2 separate regions of the Homo sapiens genome follow, and region 2 is linked to region 1. Evidence: promoter capture Hi-C in 16 types of primary human blood cells and fetal thymus (Javierre and others, 2016). All regions are on one chromosome and are shown on one strand. The core of a region is centred on a gene start or on the middle of the fragment in contact, and the rest is flanking DNA. Distances in the headings are between cores, read along the strand shown. Region 1 holds the start of ZNF202 (zinc finger protein 202). Region 2 holds the start of OR8D2 (olfactory receptor family 8 subfamily D member 2).

Region 1 (6,845 bases), core at 1,963-4,462:
TCAAGCTATATGTCTCAGTTTAAAACAGAACATGACAAATTAACCTGAAGCAGGAAAAGGAGGGGACATCAAACCTGACACCCATCCTGATAAGAGTAACTGCTCTCATTTGACAGCCAGAGTTAAACTAGATGTATGCAATCTCTACAACAAACATAGTCAATGCCAATCAGATAGTCAGAGGAACCATCATTTAATGGGAAATAACGCAATAACATATATAACAGAGCTGACCGGAGGTGTTGCTATAGATAATTCATAACAGCAGTAAATTCAAAAGTCATTTACTATGTTTTTAGCTTTGTCATTAACACAGCCTGTGTGGATACTCCCTGTTTCACGTCTAGATGACTTCCTCCTGGCTTTGCTCAAGGGTCCTTTAGCATTTGAGGAGATGATAAGGGATGGGATCCCCGCCTGTTGAACCAGAGGAATCTGAGGAGTACCAGGTTTCCACTGAAGACTAAATCATGATCCAGAGAAGGAATCTCAGAAGTCATTCTTGTCGTGGGCATGGCTTAACGTCTGTCTCCCCACTGTGGGCCCTGCCCTCGAGAGCAAGGGTCTCCTTATTCATTTTTATATTCCCAGTGCCTACCACTTTGTGGAGCCCTTAGTAGAAAAGGTATTCAATAAACGCACATTGAGTTTAAGCTTTCTATTTCTCCTCCCCCAACTAGTATATATTACAGAAGCACTGAAAATTCAGAAATCAGCCAGTGTCAGGGCTCCTGGGTAATAAACCATTCACAGGGATAGCTGTAGGAATTTGGCATAAGCATTTATTCCAATCTCTTGGGGGTAATCAAGTGGCATAATCATGCCCTGCTTTACTGTGTAGCATAAGGCCAGTAGAGAAAAACATCAAGAGGGGAGGAGGACAAGGGATGGAGTTCAATACACAAATATCTACTGAGCGTCAATTACGTGTCCCACACTATTCAAGGTGCTGGGCAAAGAAAGATAAAAAAAGCAGAAGCTCTGACCTTGAGGAACTTAACAGGTAGTTAAGAAATTGCAGAATTTTAGCAATACTAGGAATTCACAGCAAAAGCCCAGAATACAGGTGTAATATTTTGATCAAAACGTGAAGCCCCTATCAAGAGAATTAAGAAAATCAAGGGGAAGAACTTATCAATATTTCACCTCAAATTTGGCATATAGCATTCAGTTGTTTTAAGTACGCTTTCTTAATTTTGCGAACAAAATATTCAGACCTAAGTGATTATCTATAAAAGATCAGATTACTAGTTTCCAACACAGAAGTACTCAAACAAAGGTATTCTGAACCTCAACCTACTGCAATACATATATCACATTTGGCCAAAAGGTAGTTGTTCTCAAAGTGAAGAACCCAGATCTGCAGCATCAGTACCTGAGCCTTGTTAGAAGTACAAATTCTCAAGCCCCAGCACAGACCTATTACCAGAAACTCTAGGGGTGGGCCCCAGCAATATGCGTTTAACTAGCCCTTCAGGTGCTTATAGTAAGTTTGAGAACCACCACCTAGCAAATGAAGTAAATCTGAAGTTCATGCAGAAAGCCATTGCTGGCCAAACTAAAGGGTTTGCTGGTGAGAGAACAGCAAAAACAAGGGGTATAGAACTGTTTCACATTTTAAATCTGTGCCAAATTTACTGGGAAAAAAAAATGTAAACCTGTAACTTACCTCATCTGTACAATTTGCAATGGCTGAGTCCCTCACATTGTGGTAAACCTTGTTGTACCCTTGGAATGATTGTCTACTGCAATATAGTATATACACAGAGTACAAAAAGGGTATAGCTGGAGGAGAAAGGGTGAAAGATTATGAATCCCAGGCGTTTGGTCCTAGGAGGAAAAATTCCTGTCCTCTCTCCAACCCTGCCCACCCTCTTATGCTAGATAGTAACAGCAGAAAGTTATCCCAGACTGCTCCGCGTTCACACGCTTCCCACCAACAAACCTCCTCCCAAGGCTATCCCACAACCTTTCTGAAGTAGCTTCCTGGATCAAGCCCCACGGGGCAGCTTGGAAGAGAAGCTGGGAGGGATGAGGGGCTCCACTAGCATTCCTTGTGGCTTCTGAGTGTAGCTGCCCTGGGTGTCACCTGCAGAGCGTGGATAGAGAAAAAGCAACAGTTCTAAGCCCAGCCTCTAATTGAGAGCCTGGGATCTAGCGCTGCTCCCCAGGACCAAGGTTGTTCAAGAAAGGCTGGGTCTAAGAGTCTCCCTCTGGGGAGGTCAGTACAGATTCCAAGGCAGACAGGGTTATCAAAGCGCCTAGAAGATGAGAACATTCATTGTTCAGAAAAACAAAAATTAGACTGACACCTTTCTGAAGGAACACAGCCTATCCATGGCACAAAAACAAATTTTTAATCAAGACACTCAAGAAGTAGGTATACTCCTGCTAAAAGTAACGCAGGTGCTGAGAAGAGGTGCCAAAACTGGCTGTTAGGAGTGGGAGGAGAGGAAAGTTGCAAGTGGAGACAGCAGCTACTGGCTTGAGGGGACCTCAGGGTCTGTCACAGTGGCAGCTGAAAAGCCTCTGGCCAAATGGACGCCAAGGACTACTATCATCACAGGTGACAAGATCACGGGTGAGTGTATCTGGGTGTGTGCTGGGGGGCTGAGGGGGGCTTGGTGGTGTAAGGAGATGGGGCTAGCCGGGGCAAGGAGCCCGCGGAGATGATCTTAAGCAATCTGAGAGGAGGGGTAAGAAAAAGCTGCGGAAAATAAAGGGGCCTAGACCACTCCTCCCTCGGTTCCGGGGGGACAGTTGGCGCGGAAGCGTTAGGAGGTACGAGGTACGGACTAACTACATTTCTGCAGGCCCCAGGAGGGGGCGGAGGGCGGTGGCTGGAAAGGAAAGGAAGCCGGGAGCGCCATCCGTGTCCCCGGAGATACTGGCTCCGGCCACCAGGAAACACAGAGACCACAACGTCTCGGCACCCTCAGTACACCGCCGCCACCCCTTCCCCAGGACACGGCGATTTCCCCAGACTCTGGGGGGCGGGGTCTCCGGTCCCTCCCCCTCCTCCCCGCCCTGCCCGGCTCTGCCCGATCTGGTCCGGCCCGGTCCAGCCCGGCCCGGCCCAGCCCAGCCCACTCAGGACTCACGGCTCCGACAGCTCCGGCGGCTCCTCCCCTGCCCCGGCTTCTCTCCCACCCACTCCCGACCGAAACAGCGCCGCCGGATCCGAGCCGCGCGGGGCCTAGCGGGTCGGAACACGTGGGGCCTTTGCGCCCGGAACCGGAAGCGATCGCTCGCCCCGCCTTCTCGCCGAGTAGGAGCCTTTCTAGGCTGTGGGAGGTTTGATCCTCTCTATGCGCCCTCCGCGGGTTGCGGCTCAGTGCTCCCCAAGGACCCAGTGCGAAGAAGCCTCGGACCCCACAGCTGCCGTCCGCGACCCCTAACTCCACTCTGCAGCGAATAAATTAACATCTTGGGCCTTTCATTTACAGGCATACCTTCTGCAAGGGTTTTCTTTTTCTTTTCTTTTTTCTTTTCTGTTTTTGATCTTTTGTGTGTTTGTTTTCATTTGGATACCTCTACGTGTTTTTCTTGATTTTTTTTTCTTTGCATTGTCCGCTGCAACATGGTAGAAAAGGGCAGCGTTAGGTTTGAATACTGGCTCTTGCAGTCACCATCAGCAGCAGGGCCTCGGCCGAATCTCTCCATCTTTGAACCCTATTGTGCATCATATAAAACGGGCATAATAATACCGTTACTCTGAGGACTAAATGATACATTGCACATGAACTGAATGGAACATCAGAAGCTCAGAAAGAAAATAGTTATGGTATCACTGTTCTTTCTTTTCCTTTGAGTGTTGCTTCGTATTTCTTTACTTTCAGGCTGTCTTCCCTGATCTCATTTGTTCATTTTTGTCCGTTCGGTGACCTTTCTGCCCATACTTGACATTTTCCTTTGCTCTCTGTCCCTTTTACCCTGTAAGTCACCACTCTCCACGTGCCATGTGCCACTTCCTTTTCATGGGACACATTGCTGGGATCTGTTTACTGGGTTTGAACCAAAGGATTAGTTACTTTTGGTGGAGTGGCAGTGTATTAGCGAAACAGAACTAATAGGTGTGAACCCAGAAGGCAGGACAACTCAAAGCGGGGAGGGGGCTTCCAGGTCATAGGTAGATAAGACACAAATGGTTGCATTGAGTTGCTGATTAGCCTCTCCGGAAGGAGGCAATCAGATATGCATTTATCTCAGTGAGCAGAGAGGTGACTTTGAATAGAAGGGGAGGCAGGTTTGCCCTAAGCAGTTCCCAGCATGAATTTTCCCTTTAGTGATTTTGGGGGCCCCAAATCACTTTCCTTTCACACGGGGTATGTATAAACATATAAAAGGAGATTTATTATAAGGAGTTGGCTTACATAATTATGGACGTTGAGAAGTCCCACCATCTGCTTACTGCAAGCTGGAGAAATAAGGAGGTTGGTGGTATAATTCAGTCTAAAGCTGAAGGCCTGAGAACTGGAAAGGGATTGAGGTGCTGGTGTCTGAAGGCCAGAGAGCAGGAGGAGATGATGTCCCAGCTCAAGAAGAGAGAGGTGAATTTACTTTTCCTCTGCCTTTTTATACTATTTGGGCCCTCAATGGATTGGATGGTGCCTACGCATAGTGGTGAGAGTGATTTTCTTTACTCAGTCTACTGATTCAAATGCTAATCTCTCTCTCTTTTTTTTTTTTTTTTTTTTTTTTGGACAGAGTCTTGCTCTGTCGCCCAGCGATCTCGGCTTACTGCAATGTCTGCCTCCTGGGTTCAAGCAATTCTCCTGCCTCAGCCTCCCGAATAGCTGGGATTACAGGCATGTGCCACCATGCCCAGCTATTTTTTTTTTGTGTGTGTGTATTTTTAGTAGAGAGGGGGTTTCACCATATTGGCCAGAAACACCCTCACAGACACACCGACTAATAATGTTTTCTGTTGTCTGGGCATCCCTTAGCTAGTCAAGTTGACACATAAAATTACCCAATACAAAGAGAAATATACATTTCATGAAAGCCTACTGTGTACCAAATATTTTTCTCTGTAAATCTCATTGAATATTTTAAAATATTGGTATTAAGTGCATAAATAATACATAAACATCTTCTTCTAAACATTTAATGCATTACAGTGTTAAAGGAAAAATTATTCAGTGATACTTGTTAGAGCATGGTAAGGGAGACCTTATTCAGGACCAGGAAAGGTAAAGAAACCACTGCAATGAAGTCTTGCTGTAGGGATGAGAGATTGGGCTGAACTCTGAATACAGAATGGGCAAGTGGGAATTTATAGTCAAGGAACTTTTTTTGGAGTTTGGGACGTCGATGGATTGAAAATTACTAAGGGGAAACATCAGGCTTAAGGCGGATTCTGGCTAAGTCAACCTAATAGGATTCTTGCTGAAGACAGGCCAGGTTGATCAGACATCACCTGGGGCGTGATGGAGGATGAGGACACTGACCAGGTATTAAGGATGGTCAGATATCAAGGATGGGGGCGTTCCTGCCAAAGGACTTAGAGTTCTTTGCTAACAGTAGATTTTACAAGGAAGTACGCCGATAGCCCTAGGAGAAGTTTCAGAAGCCTGACAAGTTTGGCGAAGAAAAGAGATTTTGTCAATGGATAAAGCTAATGACTTTTTTTTTTTTTTTGGGACGGAGTCTCACTCTGCCACCAGGCTGGAGTGCAGTGGCACCATCCCGGCTCACTGCAACCTCGACCTCCCGGGTTAAAGCGATTCTCCTGCCTCAGCCTCCCGAGTAGCTGAGACTACAGGCATGCACCACCATGCCCAGCTAATTTTTGTATTTTTAGTAGAGATGGGGTTTCACCATGTTGGCTAGGATGGTCTCAATCTCTTGACCTCCCGATCCACCAGCCTCAGCCTCCCACAAGTGCTGGGATTACAGGCATGAGCCACCATGCCTGGCCGCTAATGACATTTTTACCAACCCTGGCTTCCTCCTCTCTCTCCAGAAGTTAGCTGTTCTTATGACCCTAATGTATTTATCTTCCAGATATTTTTATTTTCATGTGCTGTGTACATATGTATCCACAGAAAGTACATAGTATTATTTTCTGTGTACTTGTGTGTATACCTGTGTGTTCATGTTGAATTCTTCCATTTGTTTTCTCTTAGCAGTGGGCCTTGGAGATCTGTTGATAGCGGTAAATAAAAATCTCCCTTATTCCTTCTGCTTTCTGCATAACATTCCATAGTCTGAATAGCAATTTGCCTGTTGAAAACATAAGTTTTTATAATTGTTGGGATTACAAACAATGCTATAATGATCACCCTCTTTGTGCGTACATGCAATGGTACTCTGAGACGGATACTGAGAAAGAGTATTGCTGGGTCAAAGGTTGCACACTTTTAATGAATACTGCCAAGTTTTCCTCCCAAATGAATGCACCTGTTTACACCCTTAACAACAGTATACAAGATTTTTTCCCTGTATCCATGCCCTTACCTCATGTTGCCGGAATTGTAAATCTCAGCCAGTTTAATGGGCAAAAATAATATCTAATTGTTTTACTTTGCCTTCCCATCGTTAATGGTGAGACTGAACTTTCTTTCATACATTTGTTGGTAATTTGTAGTTTTCCTGTGAGTTTTATTTTTATATTGGACTTTTTGTTTTTTTAAATTGGTTGTTAGATGTTCTTTATGTATCCTAGATCCTAATGATTTTACGTATATATTGCAAGAGATATATTAATTTTATGTGTCTTGACTAAGTTCATGAAAGCCTGCTGTGTATAAGATGTTTTTCTCTATAAATCTCATTGAATATTTTTAAATATTAATATTAAATTAATGTTTTCCTTAACTTTCTAGATTATTGTCTAACTTTGT
Region 2 (6,845 bases), core at 1,687-4,186, 580 kb after region 1:
GTGTGTGTGTGTGTGTGTGTGTGTGTGTGTGTGTGTGTGTTCTCTTTCTTTCATCGATGTTTTATAATTTTCATTGTAGAGATATTTCACTTCTTTGGTTAATTTCTAGGTATTTTATTTGAGTTGTAGGTATTGTAAATAGGATTACTTCTTAAATTTCTTTTTCAGATTGCTCACTGTTGGCATGTAGAAATGCTACTGATTTTGTATGTCAACTTTATATCTTGCAACTTTACTGAGTTTGTTCAGTAGTACAAAATGAATTTAAACTTTTCTGAACAATTTGAACTTCTCTGAAAAGTTCAAAAAGTCCAGAAAAAAAGTTCAAATTGAATTTGAACTTTTCCAAATCAGTTCTAATAGTTTTTTTTGGTGGCATCTTTAGGCTTTTCTAAACATAAGATCATGTCATCTGCAAGCAACGATAACTTGACTTCTTCCTTTCTAATTTGGATGCCCTTTCTTTCTCTTGTCTGATTGCTCTAGTTAGGACTTCCAAACAATTAGTTCTGATTTATGGGAACTTGTAAAGTGGAAGAAAAAGAGAAAGGGAATAAAAGAGATTATAGGAAAGGGGGAGTAGGCATGTTCAGATAGTGGAAAGGATAAAAAGAGATGGAATAGAAAGTATCAGAAGGTGATGAAATGAATGGATCATAAAACCTCAGTGTTAGCAATGAACAAAGGGATCAGTTTGGTCATATTCTTAGCCAGCATTTGATTCTTCTCAGAAATATTCCAGACAGAATGGTTGAATATTCTGTCTGGAATATGTACTTAAATCCCTACTGCTGGATAGTTCATAAATTCCCAAGATAGCTAATTATTTTTTGATAGTTCTGATTTTTGGAAGAGTCTTCTTTAGCCTACTTGTGCTCTGTGGCAAGAACTACTAAAACCTCAATAACTAGCCTACAGCCCTTCTGTGTGTAACTCCTATGTGTAACTTAATTATCCTCTAATATCTGTGAGCAATTTCTATCCTCTTGGCTTTATTTTCTAAGACATTTTATGATCTGAGATTCTATGATGTATTTTTCTCCCTGTTTATTGCCTTTCTTTCAGGCTAAAACCTAAATCTAATGAAGGCAAGGAGTTTGTGACTTTTGTTCATCTCTTTATCACCAGTATGAGGAATAGTGACAGGTATGTAGTGGGCATTCAATGAGTATTCCTTAAATGAATGACCCAAAGAATAAACAAATCAATGAATGTGTGATTTCAAGTTGCTTCATCATGGCCATGCGTCTCAGAATATATTTCAGAATGCCAGTGGCCTCTTAAATAGTAATATCAACAAAGTAAATTACTTTCAAGTGGACACAGTCTAATTGCTGTTGTGCAAGTGATAACTAGAATGTTCCTCATTCTAAATACTAAAATGTAGCTAATGCAGACAAGGTAACAGTAACTTTCTAGGTAGTTATGCTTTTTACTTATATTGTCAAAAATCCTTAATTCTCTGGAGTTAAATAAAGTTTTTCCCACTCTCTCCATTTTTATAGAAGTATAGAATCTTATATTACCCATGTACATTTTTAAAATCTCATTAAATGCGACTATCACTCCAGCCTTTAAAAGTCTTTGTGAATCATGCTCTGTCATCCATTAAATCAACTATTTCAAGGCTGAGGATCGTGACTCAGGCTTCTAATTCCAGCACATTGGGAGGCCAAGTTTGGAGGATTACTTGAGGCCAGAAGTTCAAGACCAGCCTGGGCTTTCAAAAGTAATATGTTCAATAAATTGTTTTTAATGTTTATTTGCCCTTCCTCTTCTGTCATCTCCCATTTCTCTAATACATTTTCGAAGATTATATTGACCATCAGAAAATTTTGTTTCATAATCTCCAAAAATGTCTTAATCATTCTCTAATATAAAATATACATTTTTAAGTGATGATAATTTTTCTCTCTCCGAGAGAGACAGAAACTTACAAAGATCCTATAACAACTTTTTATATGGTTTATTTTTTCTGGCTGCCAATGAGAACCCTCTTTGTCAGGATGACTGCCTTCCCCTAGTCATCTTCTTCAGTGCATTTTTCACATCCTTGTTCCTCAGGCTATAGATTAGAGGATTCAGCATGGGGATTATTGTGATGTAGAACACAGAAGACACCTTCTCTTTTTCCATAGTAGTGCTGGAAGGGGGCTTGAAATACATGAATGTTATAGACCCAAAAAAGATGCCCACAGCCAAGAGATGGGAGCTACAAGTGCCAAAGGCTTTGGATTGCCCCTCAGTGGAATGAATACCAAGGATACTAGAGAAAATGAAAGCATAAGAGATAAGGACCGCCAGTGTAGTTGCTAAGGTATTAACTCCTCCAATAATGAACAGCAGAATCTCATTGATGTGGGTGCTGGAGCAAGACAGAGTCAATAAGGGGAGAATATCACAAAAATAATGACTGACCGTATGAGACCTACAGAATGACAACACTGACATGCGGGTAGTATGGACTGTGGCCCACAGAAAACCCAGTGAGTATACCACAGCCATCATTATGGAACAGACCCTGTGGGACATGACAATATTGTAAAGCAGTGGGCGACAGATAGCAACATAACGGTCATATTCCATGGCTGTCAGAAGGTAGCCTTCTGCAATTACAAAAATAAGGAAGAAATAAAGTTGAGTAATGCATTCCAGAAAGGAGATAATGTTCTCCTCTGGAACAAAGTTCACCAGCATCTTAGGGGTAATGACAGAGGAGTAGCAGAGATCAATGAAAGACAAATGACTGAGAAAATAATACACTGGAGGGTAAAGTTGAGAACTGAGAGCAATTAAGAAGATCATGCCCAGGTTCCCCACCACTGTGACCACATATATTCCAAGGAACAGGAGGAAGAGTGGCAGTTGAAGTTCTGGGCGTTGTGTCAAGCCTGCCAGGATAAACTCAGCCCCTGAAGAATGGTTTGAAGTAGCCATGTCTTTTAAGGTATTATGTGTAATAAGAAATAAGAGAAAAGAGAGACATTAGATTTATTTTCTGATTCCCAAAGCAGAATGACATGCCCCATGTTGGTTGCTTCCATTCCTGAGAGCCTCATCTGTCCCATGATTGCCTCTTTTCAGGGACCTCTTACAAGATCAAGGGCAAATATTATGAGTATAACCAAGAACCTTGATTTCACCCAAAACCCTGTTGAATGCTCCTCTTTTAGTAAGAGTCCTCCCATTTTGTTTCCAGGCTTATGCCCATAATTACCTCACTGCTGGAGGAAGCACAAACTTTCCAAATCTAATTAGTTTGTCATTGCTACCATTAAAACAACACTGCTTACCTTCTTTATCTGAGCATATGCCAATAGAACCTTCAGACTTTGTTACAACATGGCTTCTAATCCAGCTCTGATGATATAAAAGTAGTCCATTTCAGTTTCCTTACCCATCAACATGAATCAACATAATTAGCATTTGCTAAAACTAGGAAATAAGAAACATAAAAGACGTCTATAAAGAGACCTTAGTACAAAAAAAAAAAGTATGGAAATGGTTCTAATCAATTCTGACCCTCATTAGCTCACTTCTGTTCTTTGAATGGAAAACTTGAGTGGGCCAGGAGATTCTTGTACTCAGTGTGGATGTGGTTGACAGAAATGTTGTGCCAAGGGCTATCCTGAGATTCTAGTTTAGATCTTTCCTGTTCCAGAAACAGCAAAGAAGCAAAGAAGTAAGGCTGACTTTCAGGTGTAAGACCTGAACCATCAGCAACTCAGCGCTTCCCTCCTTGGCCCTTTCCTGCTATCCATTATTCATGGCCAAACTCTCACTGACCTTTCTCTTTCAAAGCTGTGAGATCTGAACTGGAGATTTCTTATTCCCTGACTTCGTTTCCCCTAAAGTTTAAGCAAAGGATTCAGGGTGTGTTGCTTTCAGCTGAAACACTGTATATTACCTAAGACATCAGGTTTCATAATTTTTTTCCAAAGTGAGAAAAAATGTCAAGGGAGGAAAAACTCCATACATAGAGTGAGATGTTGTTTGCTTTTATTTTGCATAAAAACATATTTTTATGATCACAAACAAAAATTTATAAAAATTTGCTTCTACAGTGTTTTAAGGGTACTCAATATGTATATCGATTTAAAAGCTGACAGGTGGGGTGTTATCTCCAAGAGCACTTGAGAAGACAGCCATGTTTCTGAATTAGGGGAATTAGAGAATACTCTAAGAGAAAGAGAATCAGAGTTACCAGAATGCAACTCTAACAAGCCCTGTTACGGGAAGTTCAGGAATTCTAGATTTTTAGCCTTACTTGGAAAAATATTCTACCAAATGACTGAATTAGCCAAAAAGAGAATTTGTTGAAGAAAAATAGCAGAGAGCTTATTTAGAGAGAGACAGTACACTCTGGAAAGGTGAGACAGAGCTGGCTGCTGAAGGGGAGTGAGCCAGCAGCAGCTTGAGAGTTCTGCACTGGGTTTTTGAGATGATGTCCGACACTTTCTTGAAGTTCCCACCTCTGTCGTGAGCCTCTGCCTTTTCCTTTGTCCAGGTTCCTGCTTCTGCCTTAAGTCCCCTTCTCTTCCCTGCCTAGTTCCCATGCCAGGCTTGTGGAACCCTCCCTTACTATTGGCTGATGTGCATGCATGGACCCTGTGTTGGATATGAATCCTGCCTAACAGCCGCATTGCCACCCAAGGGAGGCTGCTTAATAATAGGTCTAGTGATTGAAGCACATTCTTTCCTATATCCGTAACATTTCTATATTGATATATTCCCAAATTATTTTCATCACAGAACTATCACAAATAATGCCTAGAGTATTTCTTTTAGAAAAGACTATCTCAATAAAGTAGAAAGGTTAAGAATTTAAAATTACGTGCTATGGAATGAGAACTTTACCCTCTTTATTACTCATTAAGCTAAGCATAATGATATATAACATACTACTTTTTTTACTTTAAATTCTGGTGTACATGTGCAGAACGTGCAGGTTTGCTACATAGGTATGCATGTGCCATGGTGGTTTGCTGCACCCCAAATGCATTAGGTTTTAAGCCCCAAATGCATTAGCTGTTTGTCCTGATGCTCTCCCTCTACAAATTTATACCATGAGATTGTATTTATACTTTCTTCTCCCACAGACATCAAGAGTAATGACTACATTTATCATCTGGTGTGGTAAAGACAATCATCTCTTCCTTGCTATGATCTGAATTACTCTAAGTTTTTTAAAAGTGTTACCCTACCTCTGCCGATTCTCCTTTCTGTGAGCCATCTGTACTAGGAAGTTGTTCCCACATACTGAGGCCTTATTCTCAATCTTGTTCATGGATTAGTTTACTGTTCACTTGAGTATAGCTGTAATCAAAGTTTTATAACCTTATTGTATTGTGAAATTTAGCTTAAATACATATATAAAAATGTAGAAAATATATATACTTCCACCTACTATAAAATGAGCAGCTTTAACCACCATGCAGATCTATAAATAGAATATCACCAGCACCCCAGAGCCCTCTATGTGCCCCCTTTTTATTGTAGCTCCATCCATCCTTCCATTCTCTATCCTGATTCTATTGCAATCACTCTCTGGTTTTCGTTATAGCTTCATCACCTAAGTGTGGCTTCATTGGTTATCTGCATCTAGCCCAGAAAAGGGCAAAGAGAAAGTTAAAAGGGAACAATGTAGCCCTGGAATAGCATCCATCATCTCTAAAATAGTCACATGCCACACGGCACTGCAGGAGACACTGGGAAATGTGTGTTCTGGAAGAACAGTGAACAGCAACAATCTCTGACACACTGGGCTAATCATATTGGTGCCTACCAATTATCAATGGTTGGTTATGTGTCTTTTTGAGTCTTGACTTGATGACATTTTGCTGGCTCCTTTCTTTCCCATACCCCTACTTCTATTTTACAGAATGAGGTGTTGCCCCATTCTAGAATGGCAAATAAAAGCCAATTAGAGCTTTAAATCAAATGTGTTATAATTTTATCTTTTGACAAAACTAATGTACATTCACTGTGGATTATGTGTTTAATCAAAGCTTAATGGATAATGCAGAATAATTACAGTACTTTACAGAATGGCATACAAATTCGGAATAAAATGCAGTTTCTAAAACTTCTTTGACCATTTCCCACAGAGGGACCTTGCATTTATTGGCCATGTGTCTTCTTGGGTATTAACTTAATGACATTTTGCTGACTCCTTCCTCTCCCACGCCCCTACTCTCTAAATTACTAGTACTTACACATTCAAAATTCTCCTTTTTAAAAAATTTGGCTGAAAAGTCTCCCCTCTGTTTAACCCACTCACCTTTCAACTATACCAGCTCAACAGGCCTCCTCTTTCCCAACAAAAAGAACCTTCAAATGATTTTCCTAAACATACACACAAGATAAATGGAAAAACAATACCCTACCTGAGAAAAAGTCATGTTTCATTTCAGAACTAAGCAGTCAACATTCAAAATAGCAATTTTTTTATATATTGTACTTGCTGAAATAAAATAATAGAATGAAGTAGAAGCAAAGTAAACTAGAAAGAGTAGTCAATTTAAAATCAGAAGGCTAATAGCTTATTCTAAGTTTTTTCATTAAGAAGCTGGGTGACTATAAGTAAATCAATAACCACTCTGAGCCTCCCTTTCCTGACCATGCAATAAACACATATTGAACATCTGTTATATGCTACTTTGAAGGCACAAAGGTAAATAAGAAAACTCTTTGCCAAAGGAAGCATAATGAACAGTGTTTATAGATGCAAAGTGGGTTATAATTGATAGTCTTTATGAAACTTTCAATCTCTGGCATTTAAAGGAAACATCCATTTTCTCAGTAGAGGATGTAAAGATGAGAGTTAAAATAGATTGTCTAATTCA

Evidence for each region. The method cuts DNA at HindIII sites, captures the fragments that hold promoters and counts their contacts. A CHiCAGO score of 5 or more calls a contact.
Region 2: a contact is called between the fragment with the promoter of OR8D2 here and the fragment with the promoter of ZNF202 in region 1, in 1 of 17 cell types (naive B cells). The highest score is 5.4, in naive B cells.

The regions. Positions count from the first base shown.
Region 1 is chr11:123,738,448-123,745,292 of GRCh38, forward strand. It overlaps ZNF202 (zinc finger protein 202), which reads right to left and starts at 3,213. Exons shown (of 9, transcript NM_003455.4): 1 at 3,102-3,213; 2 at 1,970-2,089; 3 at 1,670-1,745. RefSeq lists enhancers at 2,599-2,808, 3,798-4,395 and silencers at 2,989-3,118, 3,159-3,208. The HindIII fragment of the contact is 6,844 bases long and covers 653-6,845 here.
Region 2 is chr11:124,317,261-124,324,105 of GRCh38, forward strand. It overlaps OR8D2 (olfactory receptor family 8 subfamily D member 2), which reads right to left and starts at 2,937. Exons shown (of 1, transcript NM_001002918.1): 1 at 2,002-2,937. The coding sequence starts at 2,937. The coding sequence ends at 2,002. It overlaps LOC112268069 (a long non-coding RNA gene), which reads left to right. Exons shown (of 3, transcript XR_002957213.2): 2 at 1,066-1,146; 3 at 5,564-5,964. The HindIII fragment of the contact is 6,670 bases long and covers 1-6,006 here.